Linked DNA regions of Homo sapiens: region 1 is linked to region 2. The links are contacts of gene promoters, found by promoter capture Hi-C in blood cells and fetal thymus (Javierre and others, 2016). All regions are on one chromosome and are shown on one strand. Each heading gives the region's core, a stretch centred on a gene start or on the middle of the fragment in contact. The rest is flanking DNA. Distances are from core to core; before and after follow the strand shown. Region 1 holds the start of SPATA4 (spermatogenesis associated 4). Region 2 holds the start of PPID (peptidylprolyl isomerase D).

Region 1 (2,700 bases), core at 1-2,500, about 17 Mb after region 2:
CTGCCGCAGTCTGTGTCAAATACCCTTTTTCCTGGCCGGCGGCAGCCATGACGCTTTCTGGGTTGCTGCGGCAACAGCAGAAGGCGGGGCTGGGCCTTATTGCTGGCGGCGCGGTCTCGTGGGGCGGGGCGGAGTCTTATGGGGCGAGACCTCAGCGCCTGCGCAAGCGCCGCAGCAGCCGCCCGTACTTCCGCTTTACTCAGATTTTGGACCGCGGGGCCGGGTATCGAGGGAGGCAAAGCTGGGGTCCCAGTGGTGTGGCTGCGGTCTGGGGAGCGCTTTCAGTCTCAGATTTAGTTGGCCTCACTGTTAACCTATTTAGAGCTTTTTTTTTCTTATGTCATCGTTCATAAGTTTTGTATTTTAAATATTGTTGGTTTCTGCCCAGCCAAAGGCCTATTTTCAGTCGTCTAGTTTGAGGAGTGGTGTGAGAAGACTCCAGAGGCCAAGGACAGTTTTTGTTTGGGAATTGGAAGAGATGGGGGAAAAAAATCTTTGAAATGGAAATGAATGTCCACAAAATTTAACATAACTATTTCCTTAATTATTGCATTAAGTATTTGTAAACATTAATATTTGAAAACGATGTGTAGGTTAGATTTTCACACTTAATTAAAATCTCCTAGTAGGCATAATTCCTTCATTAATTCAACAAATATGTATTGAGTCCATATTATGTGCCACGCATTCATCTAGTCACTTGGGATCTATCTGAACACAATGAAAACAACTGCAAAGTTGGCATAGGCAATTATAAATATGTAAGCTTAATTATTAAAATCCATTAAAAATTTTTACAGCCACAGTTTTTTGTTTTTTGTTTTTTGTTTTTTGTTTTTTTTTGCTTGGCAGGGCACAGTGGGTCATGCCTGTAATCCCAGCACTTTGGGTGGTGGAGGCGGGAGGATCGTTTGAGCTCAGGAGTTCAAGACCAGCCTGGGCAACACAAGGTGGAGAGACTTTCGCTACAAAACAAACAAACAAACAAAATAGCTGGGTGTGGTGGTGCACACCTGTACTCTCAAGTACTCCAGATGCTGAGGTGGGAGGATTGCTTGAGCTCAGGAACTTGAGGCTGCAGAGAGCCAGGTGACAGGCCCTGTGGATACATACACATGGTAAAATATGGGATAGATCTTGATAATGATACTATGTAATATTTTTAATGTTTATTCATATACATGCTTATTAATAAAGTAAACCAGTGTATTCTGTATGTGGTTAAAAAAGAAAACCAAAACTGAAGCTATGTAAGTGTTTTCTGTTAGGCTAAAAAAGTTTTAATGAATGATTCATTCATTCTGTAAACCTTTTCTGAGGAACTATCCTGGAGTATGTGCTAGATCTTTACCATCCAATATGGTAGCCACTAGCCACATGTGGCTATTTAAACTTAAATTTAAATAAACTCAGTTCCACTGGCTACATTTTACCTGCTCAATAGCCATATGTAGCTAGTGGCTGCCATGTTGGGTAGGACAGACACAGCACTGTTCCATCACTACAGGAATTTCGATTGGACAGCTCTGTGCGGCAGATCATTTATAAGAGATTCAGAGATAGAAATATCAGTGAAAAGATTACATACACTGAAAAGCTCTGCCATGGTAAAAATATGTTAGCACCAGAAAGGAAGCAAATACTTTGGCCTGGGAGAGTGTAAGAAGTCCTCTCAAAAGAGATGACCATTAATTTGGATCTTAGAAGGTGGTATTTTAAGCTGATTTTTAAGATGAAAGCTTTGAATAGCCATTTCTACTGTGAAAGGAAATTAAATCTTGGGACCCCCCCCACCTCCCCCAAATCACTAAGCTAAAGGGAAAAGTCAAAGTGGGAACTGCTTAGGGCAAACCTGCCTCCTATTCTATTCAAAGTCACCGCTTAGCTCACTGAGCTAAATGCATACCTGATTGCCTACTCTGGAAAGGCTCATCAGAAACTCAACAGAATGCAACCATTTGTCTCCCATCTACCTATGACCTGGAAGCCCCCTCCCTGCTTGAGTTGTCCTGCCTTTGCTTCTAGTTGTCCCACCTTTTCCAGACCAAATCAATGTTCATCTTCCACATGTCGACTGAAGTCTCATGTCTCCCTAAAATGTATAAAACCAAACTGCCCTGACCACCTTGGGCACATGTCAGGACCTCCTAAGGCTGTGTCACGGGTGCTCATCCTCAACCTTGGCAAAATAAACTTTCTAAATTAACTGAGACCTGTCTCAGAGTTTCTGGGTTCACACTACCTTTTATTAGCTATATGACTTTGGGCAAGTTATTTAACATTTGTATTTGTAAAATATGGAAATAAATAGGATACACCACAGAGCTGTAGAGATTAAATAAGTGAAATCTATAAAGAGCCTAAAACAATGTGCAGCACGTAGTGCTCAGTAAGCATAGATGATTGCTTCAAAGGTGATCTTGGAAATTTATTTGGATGATGAAGGGGCAATCTCACACAGAGTGACTAATGGGAGCAATTGCATAGAAATATGAGGGGTTTTTTAAATGAGTTTTAGGAAAGAACAGAACCCATTAGGGTTAGAGAAAGTGTTTAGGCATTATCAACCAAAGAGACATTGTCAACCAAAGGTTTAGATGATAATGGCTAGAGAGGTAGGTTAGATCTATAGGTTAGGGTTTATTTGTTTTTGTTTTTGAGACAGAGTCATGCTGTTGCGCAGGCTGGAGTGCGGTGGCG
Region 2 (2,700 bases), core at 122-2,621:
GTGCAGATACCTCTTTGACATACAAACTTCATTTCCTTTGAATATACTCACTAGAATTAGTGAATCTTATTTTATTCTAATATTCAAATTTAGTCTACCTACTGTCATGTATGTATATAAACAGATTTGAAACATTACACTAAGGATCATAACCAATTATAGTAGCCAAAAGATTAGCACCATGTAAGAGATATCATTAAATACAAATAGTTTTAAATCCTGAGTAATTTCTTCAAGAGGTACTGAGAATTTCCAATCACCAAGCAACCAACGGGAGAAAATTAAACAGTCTTTGGGTGGGCGGACTTGCCACGTGTTACGTATACCTGCAGCCTTTGTGCTCTGAGCAAACTGCCTCATGCAACCTCTGAAGCAAAAGCTGTAAAAATTCCTCCTCTAGATAGCAGCTAAGACAGGTGAGATTAAACCTAGCCCTAGCTAGTTGCAACAAACTGAATGTACGTGTAAACGTGTGTGTGTCCTGTACATGCATTCAAACACATTGCCTGGCCAGCAATTCCAACGTGTTCCAGAACAAGGCCAATCCAGTTACAAAGCAACACGCTCCCTAATTCACCAGGCCTTAGGAACTTCTGAGCGGCTATGTAACCTAGGCAACACCATCACTACGTTGAGCGCATTTTCCCAATGGCAAATTAAGAGAAAATGTTTGCTCATCTGAACGGACCTCTAAATTAAGAATCAGTAATAAGGCAAAAGCAATGAGCAAACAAGTCCCTTTAACGTATAAATAACACAGCACGTGCTGATATATTATCTCATGTGGCAAATATAGTTTCCTGGGGCCCAGCAGACGCATATCCCAGGATATGCTTTCCGAACTGTCCCATTGCAAACATAAAATATTTCATGCTAACTTGGTAGTGCAAAGGTGGCGTGGAAGTGCCACCAAATCAGGAGGCAAACCTAAAGGACGCCACAATTCCCGAACTAGAAATTTCCAGAAACTTCCGCACCACCGATGGCATTGATACAAGGGCGCTGGATCGATCTAGCCCTAGATCTCCGGGCCTGCTCCGGCGGACCAGCCTAGGCAGCCATCCCCTCCGCGAAACTGAGCAGTCACCGGCCGGAGCCGCATTCCGCCCTTGGAATCCCCCAAATCCCGGGAACCCCCGCCTCCTCGGGGCTTTTCCGCGAGCGTCAGACTCCGCTCACCTCGCTCCCCTCCGATGTCCACGTCAAAGAAGACTCGAGGGTTACTGGGGTTGGAGGGCTTGGCTTGGGGGGACGGGTGCGACATCTTGACTTGCAGACGTGTTTAGTACGGAATATCAGAGTACCTAGTGGCCGCCCGGGCCGCCCAAACTCCAGAGTCCGTCTCCGCCGGAGACCGGCAGCGACGCTGACCGGCCACTTCCGACGCAAGAACCGGAAGCCATGGCCTGACTTCCGGCACCGCCCCGCTCCCCCGCGCGGTGTTTCAAAGAGCCTGAGCGACTCCGTGCAGCGAACCGCGTGCCCTCCGCCACCTGTTCCTGGCTTCTCATTTAATGAAGTTGCGATCCCAGTTCTCATTATTCTTCTCGCTTGTGTTTCGTTGTCTTTCCCACCCTCGTGGCGTAGAGAGCTTTGGAGTCAACCCCATGCCAGCGTCAGCTCTGCCACCAAGTTGGGTGTGACTTCTCAGAAACTCAGTTTGCTCCTCTGGAAAAAGAATAAAAACGCTGACCTCGGAAGGTCGTTTTGAGGATTAAAGACATGAATCAGTACAATGCCTGGCATAAACTGGTGGTACCCAACCAATAGGAGCCTTATTATTGCCATGTCGTTACAATTTGATCTTCACATTACAATGTAAGTGGTAAGGCTTAGACTAAACGCTCCAAACAGCTAAAGCTGAGAGTCCAGAAGAGAGCACAGTTTTGATTCCTGATAAAACTGTATTTGGCGGGGCGCGGTGGCTCACGCCTGTAGTCCCAGCACATTGGGAGGCCGAGGCGGGCGGATCATTTGAGGTCAGGAGTTCGAGACCAGCCTGACCAACATGATGAAACCCGTCTCTACTAAAAATAAAAAAAAAAAAAATCACCCGGGCGTGGTGGTGCTTGCCTGTAGTCCCAGCTACTCGGGAGGCTGAGGCAGGAGAATCGCTTGAACCCGGGAGGCGGCGGTTGCAGTGAACCGAGATCGCGCCACTGTACTCCAGACTGGGTGACAGAGCGAAACTGTCCCCCCCCCCCCCAAAAAAAAGAAAAACAAAAAAATACTGTATTACTATAGCCCACTTTTCCCTTATGGGGATCTGTGTAAAACATTTACTTTTTACACACACACACACACACACACACACACACACACACACACATATATATGAGGAGAACATAGCCTTGCCTCTTAATAAAGCCTAATTTTGGAGAAGAGTGGCAATTCCCTGTGTAGATGCTTTGCCCTGTAGTTCTATTGGAGCTCAGCAATTTGGATTCAGCCTGAGGCTTACTTTATCAATAAGGCAGGAGATATCCTTAGATGCTTCACATTTTTTTTTCTTATGAGAAAGTAAAAAGTATTGGAATCCAGCACTCAAATAATGTCTCAAAAGCCAGGAGCCTTGTGTCAACAGCAGCAGCCAGAGTGGCTTTTTGGAAGGAAAGACCAGTGCTAATTTTCCCCTATCAGAGCTGTCACCATCCCTCTAGATGAAGGCTCCTGCCCTACTTGCTACCCGGTCTTAGGATA

The links. The method cuts DNA at HindIII sites, captures the fragments that hold promoters and counts their contacts. A CHiCAGO score of 5 or more calls a contact.
Region 1: a fragment that was not itself captured here is called in contact with the fragment with the promoter of PPID in region 2 in 1 of 17 cell types (non-activated CD4 T cells); the score reaches 7.3 in non-activated CD4 T cells.

What each region holds. Positions count from the first base shown.
Region 1 is chr4:176,195,514-176,198,213 of GRCh38, forward strand. It overlaps SPATA4 (spermatogenesis associated 4), which reads right to left and starts at 72. Exons shown (of 6, transcript NM_144644.4): 1 at 1-72. The coding sequence starts at 49. The HindIII fragment of the contact is 973 bases long and covers 765-1,737 here.
Region 2 is chr4:158,722,025-158,724,724 of GRCh38, forward strand. PPID (peptidylprolyl isomerase D) reads right to left here and starts at 1,372. Exons shown (of 10, transcript NM_005038.3): 1 at 1,180-1,372. The coding sequence starts at 1,264. RefSeq lists enhancers at 782-1,365, 999-1,478, 1,366-1,950. The HindIII fragment of the contact is 3,604 bases long and covers 1-2,700 here.